3 separate regions of the Homo sapiens genome follow, and all the other regions are linked to region 1. Evidence: promoter capture Hi-C in 16 types of primary human blood cells and fetal thymus (Javierre and others, 2016). All regions are on one chromosome and are shown on one strand. The core of a region is centred on a gene start or on the middle of the fragment in contact, and the rest is flanking DNA. Distances in the headings are between cores, read along the strand shown. Region 1 holds the start of SLAMF7 (SLAM family member 7). Region 2 overlaps CD244 (CD244 molecule). Region 3 overlaps SLAMF1 (signaling lymphocytic activation molecule family member 1).

Region 1 (3,276 bases), core at 777-3,276:
TTTCAAGTGTTGAAAGAAAAAAAACTGTCAACCTAGAATTTTATACCCAGGAATGAGGGTTAAATCAAGACATTCTCAGGTGAAGGAAAACTAAGATAATTTGTTATCAGCAGGCTTATCATAAAAGAATTCCTAAAGAATATCTTGAAACAGAAAGAAATGATTAAAGAAGAAAACTTGAAGGCTGGGTGTGGTGGCTCATACCTGTAATCCCAGCACTTTGGGAGGCCAAAGTTGGTGGATCACCTGAGGTCAGGAGTTTGAGACTAGCCTGGCCAACATGGCGAAACCTGATCTCTACTAAAAGTACAAAAAGTAGGTGGGCATGGTGGCATGAGCCTGTAGTCCCAGCTACTCAGGAGGCTGAGGCAGGAGAATCGCTTGAACCCAGGAGGCGGAGATTGCAGTGAGCCAAGATCATGCCACTACACTCCAGCCTGTATGACAGAGCAAGACTTCGTCCAAAAAAAAATAAAAAGAAGGAAACTTGAAACATTAGAAATAAAGAAATAACAATGAAAAGAGTTAAAATATGGGTAAATGTAATGGATTGTCCTTCTCCTCTTGAGTGTTCTGAATTATGTTCAACAATTGAAGCAAAACTTATAATCTTACCGATATGGTTCTCAATGAATATAGACAATATATTTAAGACAAGTATAAAGATAGACTAATAAAGAAACCTAATATAGGTAAGTTTTCTATACCTAGTTCAACTGGTAAAATGTCAACACTGATAGGTAGATCAAAAGTTATGTATGTAAAATGCAATATGTACAGCAACCAGTAAAAAAACTCTTCAAAAAGATACATTATAGATAAATCAAAATGGAATTATAAAAAATATTCCAGTAACACACAGGATGGCCAGGAAAGTGAAACAGAGGAACAAAATAAACAAACAAAAGCCCAGAAGAACAAAGAGAAAATAATAACATGGCAAACTTAAGCTCTGATATATAAATAATTACATTATGTAAGTCAGTTAAATAGAATAGATAGCTCCAGAATATACCCACACAAGTATAAGTGCTGATTTTTGATAAAGATACAAAAGTAATTCAATGTAGGAAAGATCATCTTTTCCATCACATGGTAGTAGAACAATTGAACACCCACAGGCAGAAGAAAAAAAAACACGCACATTGTAATCATACTTCTGAAAACCAAAGGCAAACAAAAAACTTTTAAAACAGCTAGAGAAAAATGACACATTACCTATAGGGAAAACAATTTAAATGATGGCTGATTTCTCACTGGAAACCATGGAGGGGAGGAGTGTCATGACACTTTTCAAGTGTCGAAAGCAAAAAAAAACTGTCAACCATATTACCTGATATGGTTCTCAATGAATATAGACAATATATTTAGGTGAATCTCAACCTAAACTTCACACCTTACATTAAAACAGGATCATACATTTAAATGTAAAACATAAAACTATAAAACTTTCAGGAGAAAACCTTTGGACCCTAGTGTGGGTAGAAAAAAAACTGATAAGTTGAATTTCATCAAAATTAAAATTTTTGCTCTGCCAAAGACCCCGTTAAGAAGATGAAAAGACAGGCTACAGACCAAGAGAAAATATTTGTAAACCACATATCTGACAAATGACTCTTATACTTGGAACATATAAGGAATTGTCAAAGCTCAACAGTAAAAAAAATAAAGAATCTGATTATAAAATGGACAAAAGACATAAATAGACATTTCACCAAGGAGGATATGGATATATAGATGGCAAATAAGCACATGAAAAGATGTTCAACATTATTAGGCTTTAGGGAAATGCAAATTAAAGCCACAATGAGGTATCACTACAGCACCTATTAAAACAGCTAAAATATAAAATGGGAATATACCAAATGCTGATGAAGATGGGGAGCAAATAGATCTCTCATAGATTGCTGGTGGCAAGGTAAAATGCTCTATTCACTCTGAAAATAATTTAGCAATTACTCAATCTCACATGTCTGCGGCGTGACCCCTCCTGCTTCTTTAAATATCAGCTGGGGAAGAGGTCTGAGTAATACCTAAGAGGGAAGTGGCTTCATTTCAGTGGCTGACTTCCAGAGAGCAATATGGCTGGTTCCCCAACATGCCTCACCCTCATCTATATCCTTTGGCAGCTCACAGGTGAGTCCGGCCGGATTCTCTTCCACTCTCCTGTCTACCCCATCCTGAATAGTTCCAGGTTTCTTGTTCCACTCTGGGCCTCTGGCTCAACTCGGGAGGCTCTGTGTTCTCATCTAACATTTGCTTTTTATCAATCTCTGATCTCTGATTCTCAGGTCAGGAAGAGACTAGAGAGAGGGGGAAAAATGGCTCTGGGAACTGACTCCCCTGTTGACTGTCCCAGGGATGAAGGAGCTGAAAGAAGTGGTGCTGGGTATCAGAGACCATTTTTCTAATCCAGGTTCTGCCATGAGTTAGATAAGGAATGTTAAAGTTTTCCTGGGCCTCAGAAACTTTATCTTCTAGCCTTCTCTCCTTTTGAGGGCAACTTTAAGAACAAGATGATACTATACAGGTATGTATTTATTTACTTATAAATGTATTTATAAAATTGGTTATGCATAACAGTAATATAAATGGAAAGAATCACTTGAATTTTCTTTCCTTACTCAAGCAATGTAATCAGTCTCTACTTAGAGAACCAACTCATACCATAGGCACTTTATGTTTAATCCCATGGAGGACAGAGGACAGTTCTCCACCTGTCACTGGTATTCTAGTCTTTGAAGATTTTTCTATCCTAAGGGCTCTCAGAAAGGATCAGGAGCCCTATAAGTGAGAAATATCTCTTCTGTCATCAATCTCATGGAGTACTACCATGAGGTCCCCCTATAAGGACTTCACATAACTGCTTCATTATGTGTATCTGAGCCTGCCTGGAGTGATCTGCCCAAGACCACGCAGGCAGCTGGTGCCCCCAATATTTTCCCCTGCATCGCTAAGTGGTCAGCATCAGCAGACTCTTACCCACTTTGAATTCATCAGAAGTTTGTATTTTTGAGAGGTACCTGGGTCTAACCAGGTGGTTCTGGAATAGGCCCTCACTTTAAAAAAAAAAAACAAAAAAAAAACTCCCTGAACGGAAATGATGAGCAGAAATAGAACTTGAGGGAGATAAGGTGGAGGGGTTGGGGAAAATTATAGAGACTTTGAAAGCTACAGGTGTCCATCTGAAATCAGTCAGCGAAAGAGCACAAGTATGAAAAACTGCCATGCAGGTCCCCCTCTGCCCTCCTCCAGAGGCAGCCTGTGTAGTGTACC
Region 2 (3,225 bases), core at 167-2,666, 100 kb after region 1:
AACGGTAACTCAGGTAACTCTTAGGATGAGCATAAGCAACAGCCCAAGAACTCATCTAGGTATCCCTGGGGTCATCCTGATGCTCCTGCTCCAGGCTACTGCTGCACAGTGTAGTTACCTCTTGAACTATGTGGCTTGGAGAAAGTTATCACTCAAGAGGAGAGGACAGTTCTCCATCAGCCTCTCCCAGGAAGAAAATAATGTTCAGGAGCCATTTCAGGACTGTCACTCACCAAACAACTATGCCCTCCCTCTGCAGAAGAAAAGCTTGCATCTCCCAGAAGGAAATAGGGATAACATTTTTTTCCAGAGTAGGATAGGCCTAGCTTTACAGGAACTGTGTGCCTGGAGGCCAGGGCTACCCTGGGAAGGGCTACAAGGCACTGGGAGAGGAGGCCAAGGGATTTTATCTCATACCACATCTGTCTTGCACATGAGCCTGGTTGCGGGGTCCAAACCTTCAGCGCTTGTTATAGCCCAGTGTGTTCCACTTACCCTGATGGGCATTCTGACAGTCCTGAGTGAGATTCAGGGTGTGGCTTTCCCAGCTAACAGGATTGCTGACATTGCAGGTATATGTGTGAGTGCCATTAATGTCAACCTCCTCGTCCAGGTAGGTGAGGTTCCCTGCTGTCTGGATCAGCTTGCTCCCTCTGTACCAAGCATAGGACACATTGCCATCCCTGGAGACCAAGCAAGACAGAGCCACTTGGCATCTCCCTCTGTCCAGGATCTTCCCCTGCCCCTGTAGGCGGGGTTTCTCAACTTTATCTGGAAGCAGAGATTCTGATCAGAAAGGCATTGGAAATACAGAACTTAGAGGCCTATAGGAATCAGAGAGGGCAGTATGAACAGTCCTGGAGACTTACCAAATACAAAAACCTGGAACGTGGCTGTCTGAACTTTTCCAGATATACTGGTGACCTCCAGGCAGTAGAGGCCACTGTCCTGCTGCTGAGCTGCCTTGATGAGAAGACTCAAGTTCTTGACTATAAAACTGAATCTATCATTGGAAGTATTGGAAGGCAAAGAGCCATTCTCCCACTTCAATATGTGATGAAATCCATTTTGTGAGGGCAGCAACTTCTTCCATGCAATGCTGTCAACCTTCGTCTGTATGCTGTTTGGTTGTAACTGAAGAGGCACTCCCGAGATGCTAACCACATGGTCAGCTGATCCCTGGCATCCTAGGAAAGAGAACCCAAGCTGAAAGTAGCGGGAAGAGTGTCAGGCCTGAGCAATGTGGGCAGCTGGATGTGACTTCCCTTAAGCCAATTGGGTGGGGATGAGTATGAGGAGCCCAGAACCTAGGAGCACCTTAAAGCATATCCCCTCCATCTGCCTCCCCTTGTCCCCAAGCTCTGTGTCCCTAGTCTGAGGGATCCCATAGACCAATAGCTAAAATCTTGAGTACTTACTATGTGACAGGCAGGTTTCACACTTTATACATTTTAACTATTTAAGTTAAAAGGTATGATGAGTTAAAAGAATGATGAGCCTGAAACCTAGTCAGTTTGGTGTTATGTTTTTGTTTTCTTTTGTTTTGTTTTCTAGAGACAGGGTCTCACTCTGTCACCCAGGCTGGAGTGCAGTGGCGCAATCACAGCTCACTGCAGCCTTGAACTCCTGGGCTTGAGGTGATCCTCCCATCTCAACCTCCCTAGTAGCTGGGAGCACAGGTGCTAGGGAGCTTATTTGTTTACTCTTTGTAAAGACAGCAGTTTGGCTTGAGAGGATAAATTCTTAACCATGATGCTATAAATACCACATCTAAGGTGACTCCCTCCAAGCAGTGCTGAGGCAACTACTAATGGCAAGTAGTGACTGTTGGAAATTCTGAATGGTCAGGCCCAGGAAGACTAACCGTCCAAGCTGAACTCATGGCCCCTCAACCATCCTCTCACAGAGCTGAATACATAATCCTCTCTCGTGGCACTTGGTTCATTGGATTTTGGTCATTACTTATTGATGTTTGCCAGTTTTTCAGTGATCAGAAAGTCTCCACAAAAATTTCTCCCTAGAAAACAATTTTAAAAATAAAACTACACTTCCCAGGCAGATCCCAGCACTTGCCTCTCAAAGAATCAAGATGAAACCTAATGAATATGGGGGTGTGACAACCTAGAGCAATTCTGTGCAGTCAGTGTACAAAACTGGAAGTTCCTACAGCCATTTTTAGTAATAAAGCTATGTGGCATGGCCCAGCAGGTGCAGGAAATTAAAAAGTCTCTCTGGGTGAGTTGGGGAGGCTCAGGGAGGATTTGGAAGAGAAAATAAGAGATGGGGAGAGTTTTACAAGTGGCTCCGTTAAAATGGAGGCTATTAAGAAGAGAGCAATTGAGACAGAGGGGTTTTTATATGTCCAGTGCATTATGAATGCAGTCTCTCCAAGCCACAGCTTCACCCTGGCATTTTCTCAAGAGACTAAGTAAATAATTAAAGGACTTGTAATACTATTTGTTTGATGAAATATGTTTCTTTGATCTTGATGCTCCTAAGACTAAAACACATAGGTTCCCATTTATATTTATATGACTTGTACTGGCTCTGCCCATTAGCAAACCAAAAGCTTCTCAAAAGCAGAGACTGTGCTGTGCATCTCTGTGTCTCTGTCTCCTACGATCCTAGCACTATTTATAAGAACAAGTCAACCTACCAAATATTGCACAAAGACCCTGAGAACAAAGGTGAATGGAAAAAATCATTACTAAACCTACAAGGAGGACATATACTGTCTTCATCAATTATTCAGTCCTTACTGAGTCCCACTGCAATCCAGCCCCTGAAGAGGCAGGGCCTCTTCATGTATAAGGCATGATTCCTGACTCCAGAGAGTTTGTGATCTGGAAACAGAACACTTTCATTCTACAGCATCCCCTTAATTGTTGAGATAAAAAATCATCGAAGGAATTCTAATTATGTAATGAAAATCCAGGTTAAGACATGCTAACCAATCCTCCCACTAAAAATAGCTAGAAGAAAAATGAACAACATGTAAAAGCACATTGTTAAAGTTATCAGAGAGTTTATAAAGCAGTGAAAAATTATGGGGCCAATATCTGGAAGAAGGAAATTCAGAGAGGTGAGATCAGCATTTCTGACTGTTGTTCCCTGGAGGCATCTTCTGATTCCATAAATGGCAGCTAAAAGGCTGAGAAGCTGAGCAGAGCTCACAATAAAACTCAAGGAACTAAGAGAACATGAAGTTCACGTCCCTCCTATTAG
Region 3 (3,203 bases), core at 66-2,565, 120 kb before region 1:
TGAAATACCTGCCTCACGGGGCTGTTGTGATAATTAAATGAGATACCACTTGTAAAGTGTTTAGAACACTGCCTGGTGCATAACAAATGCCCAATACGCATTAGGTGTTTTTCTCATTGGTGTACCATTCAATTACTTTAATCTCTGTTGCTCAATGTGCATATCTGGTCTCCTAATAGGATTCTAAGTTCTTTGAGGGCAGGGCTAGTTGTTTATACCTCTTTTGTATTTTCCAGCTGGTAGTATGTTGCTTCACTCACAGCTTTCTCACCTCCCTATTTCTGGGGGAATTGATGTGTGGGAGGTAAGGGCGGGGGGACGTGTAAGAGGGATGTTCCACCTGGGACTATTTAGAAAATAAAGCAACAATGTCATTCTGTTGCCCACCATCTGGAAATTTTGCTCAGGGCCTAGGGTCTCTGGAAATTAATAAGTTGCAGAATATTTTAATTTTTAGCCAATTTTAAAAAGCTTTCTTTTTAAATTATAGGAGTAATTTATTCTCATCATAAAATAAAAATTGTGAAGAAATATATAAAGTATAAAGTAAAAAGTATAAATCCCCTTCTTCCATTAACCAACCCAATTTCATTCCCAAAAGAAACCGTATTTTTCAATACCTGTGAAAAGAAGTGGGAAAAAAAAGAAGAAACCATTTTTAAAAGTTTGATGTATATCCCTGTAGATCAGCTCTGTGCAACAGAACTTTCTGAGATGATGGAAATGTTCCATATCTGCAGTGTCTAATACAGCTTACAGACACGGGGCTATGGAGCACCTGAACTGTGACTAATGTCACTGAATTTTAAATTTTATTTAATTCAAATTAATTTAAATTTAAAAAGCCACATGTGGCTAGTGACTACCATATTAGACAATGCAGTTTTGGATATTTGCTATACTTATATAGACTTTTTTCCACACAAGAGGTGTCATTCTGCACACACTTCTCTGTAACTTGATCTTTTCACTTAAAATGTATTGAGGACATTTTTCATGTTAGCACAGTAGACCTATCTCATTCTTTCTAAAGTTGCACAGTATCCTTTGTATACATCATGCAGCAGTAAGGATGGTGGGAAAGTGGCAGACTGAAGGATGGAGGTTTATTATGGGATTATTGCAAAGTCCAGGCAGAGGCAATGGAGGCTGGACCCAGAAAATCACAGCCTTTAAGGTAGACTTATTTTAACACCAGTTAATTTATTCTCTTAAAAAACTGGGCTGGGTGCAGTGGCTCACGCCTATAATCACAGCACTATGGGAGGCTGAGGTGGGCAGATCACGAGGTCAGGAGTTTGAGACCAGCCTGGCCAACATGGGGAAACCCTGTCTCTACTAAAAATACAAAAATTAGCCAGGCATGGTGGCACGCGCTTATAATTTCAGCTACTCAGGAGGCTGAGACAGAAGAACTGCTTGAGCCCAGGAGACAGAGGTTGCAGTGAGCCGAGATCATGCCATTGCACTCCAGCCTGAGTGACAGAGCAAGAATCTATCTCAAAAAAAAAAAAAAAAAAAAAAAGGCACATCTCTGAGGAAATAGCATTTTTAGGAGAGGCACATTTTTCTTTGGAAGGGAAAGGCCCAGTGTGTATGTGGTGAGCATGGTGGAATGTGCTGCGTGAGGGTGTGAGTCTTGGGGAGGAAATGTGGGGCAGACACTGATGAAGTTCCAGGAATTCAAGGAAAGTCAACATGGGATTTTTTGTGTGTGGGTATGAGCACGGTGTGCCTAGTGGTTTCAACTTCGCTTTTTTGGTCAGAGTTGATCCTGACTGAGGAGTGTGCGTGAGTGCGTGTGTGTGTGTGTGTGTGTGTGTGTGTGTGTAAAATGGAGGGGAGGACTCAAGAAGCAGTTGGAGGTAGCAGAGGAGGTTCAAGTTAGTCCCCACGAGTGTTTGCAAAGTAAGACATGCCTGCCCAGCACTCTCCTAGGTGCTGTAGTGGCTACAAATAGAGTAGAGAACAGACTACAGTCCTCAAAGACTTTCAGTCTTGCAGGTCAGCTCAGAGTCAAATGTAGAACTGGAAGGACAGTCCTAAATGGTCAGACAGATGGAAGAGGTGAGGTTGATTGTTGCTGCTTAAAAGGACCATTGGACCAAGATAATTTAGTCTCAGGTTATTTTCCCCAGTGCAAGAACAGGTTTTTAGGAGTAAGCTTAACTCGGCTCCAAGTCAGCAAGGTCTTAGGCTCTAAGGAAAAAGTCTTGGCCTTAAAATTAGGACATCTACATTGTAGCCATCATTAGCTGTGTGGCATTGGACAAATCACGTCATCTCAATGGGTCTTTTCTCTTACCATAACTGTAAAATGAGGGCATAGAGTATCTAATATCCTTTTCAGCTTTTACCTGAAGCATAAAGTCTTATGTTACCATGACTTAAAATATTTTCAATCTGTTCTAGGTATTGTTTCCAGATGCTTCCAGTGCAGCTTCTCCTGGCCATAGCACTTACACATTGCCATTTTAATTCATCTACACTAAGAGATCTGTCTATCTGTCTATGTATCTATCTGTCTATGTATCTATCTATCTATCACCCATCGATGGGAACCACTGTGTTCAGTGTTTTCTGTGTATTGATACCAATCTCCACCACAATACCATGAAGTACATAGTATTACCCCTGTTTTGCAGACGAGAAGTTAAGTCATTTGATCACACAGCTTGTCAGTAGCAAAATCTGCATCTGAATGTAAGTTTGTCTAATGCCTATACCCACATTCTTTATCAGTGTATTCTCCTGGACATGAAATTGCCAAAGAGTCATGAAATTGAAAAGCCTTCAGCGTCAGGCTGCATTCTGATGATTATAGCATTAGAAGCTGCCAATATAATTTCTTTAGCAAGGTTTTATGAAAGGTGCAGCAACTAAATATAAATTTTACCGCAAGTTTGAGGCAGTTTTGTGTGTTGCTAACTTACAAGGGACAAATGGTGAATGGGGTTGAGGTGAGGATGGGTATGTGTGTTGGGGAAGGTAGTGGGGAATTGTGGGATGGGGAGCACTATTCCCTTAGAGCACAACCATGTGATAAGCCAAGTGTGGTTGAGGAAAGAGTATGGCGTAGGATCCCAGCAATTTTACTAGGTAGGTTAATGTGGATAAGTTAAGTTCAGTTTTCTCATCCTGGGTCATCTCACTATTTCCTTATAGTATGAGCTAAATGTGATTGCCCTACCCCGAGCCCCATA

The links. The method cuts DNA at HindIII sites, captures the fragments that hold promoters and counts their contacts. A CHiCAGO score of 5 or more calls a contact.
Region 2: a contact is called between a fragment that was not itself captured here and the fragment with the promoter of SLAMF7 in region 1, in 2 of 17 cell types (activated CD4 T cells and total B cells). The highest score is 5.4, in activated CD4 T cells.
Region 3: a fragment that was not itself captured here is called in contact with the fragment with the promoter of SLAMF7 in region 1 in 4 of 17 cell types (total CD8 T cells, naive CD4 T cells, activated CD4 T cells and 1 more); the score reaches 6.6 in total CD8 T cells.

The regions. Positions count from the first base shown.
Region 1 is chr1:160,737,221-160,740,496 of GRCh38, forward strand. It overlaps SLAMF7 (SLAM family member 7), which reads left to right and starts at 2,027. Exons shown (of 7, transcript NM_021181.5): 1 at 2,027-2,136. The coding sequence starts at 2,082. LOC124904440 (a long non-coding RNA gene) reads right to left here and starts at 1,939. Exons shown (of 2, transcript XR_007066687.1): 1 at 1,863-1,939. The HindIII fragment of the contact is 11,353 bases long and covers 1-3,276 here.
Region 2 is chr1:160,840,715-160,843,939 of GRCh38, forward strand. CD244 (CD244 molecule) reads right to left here. Exons shown (of 9, transcript NM_016382.4): 2 at 870-1,187; 3 at 496-771. Among named protein-coding and RNA genes, the nearest start is that of CD244, 21 kb to the right of the region's middle. The HindIII fragment of the contact is 2,302 bases long and covers 266-2,567 here.
Region 3 is chr1:160,620,057-160,623,259 of GRCh38, forward strand. The region is part of intron 4 of SLAMF1 (signaling lymphocytic activation molecule family member 1); the gene reads right to left. Among named protein-coding and RNA genes, the nearest start is that of SLAMF1, 25 kb to the right of the region's middle. The HindIII fragment of the contact is 1,693 bases long and covers 470-2,162 here.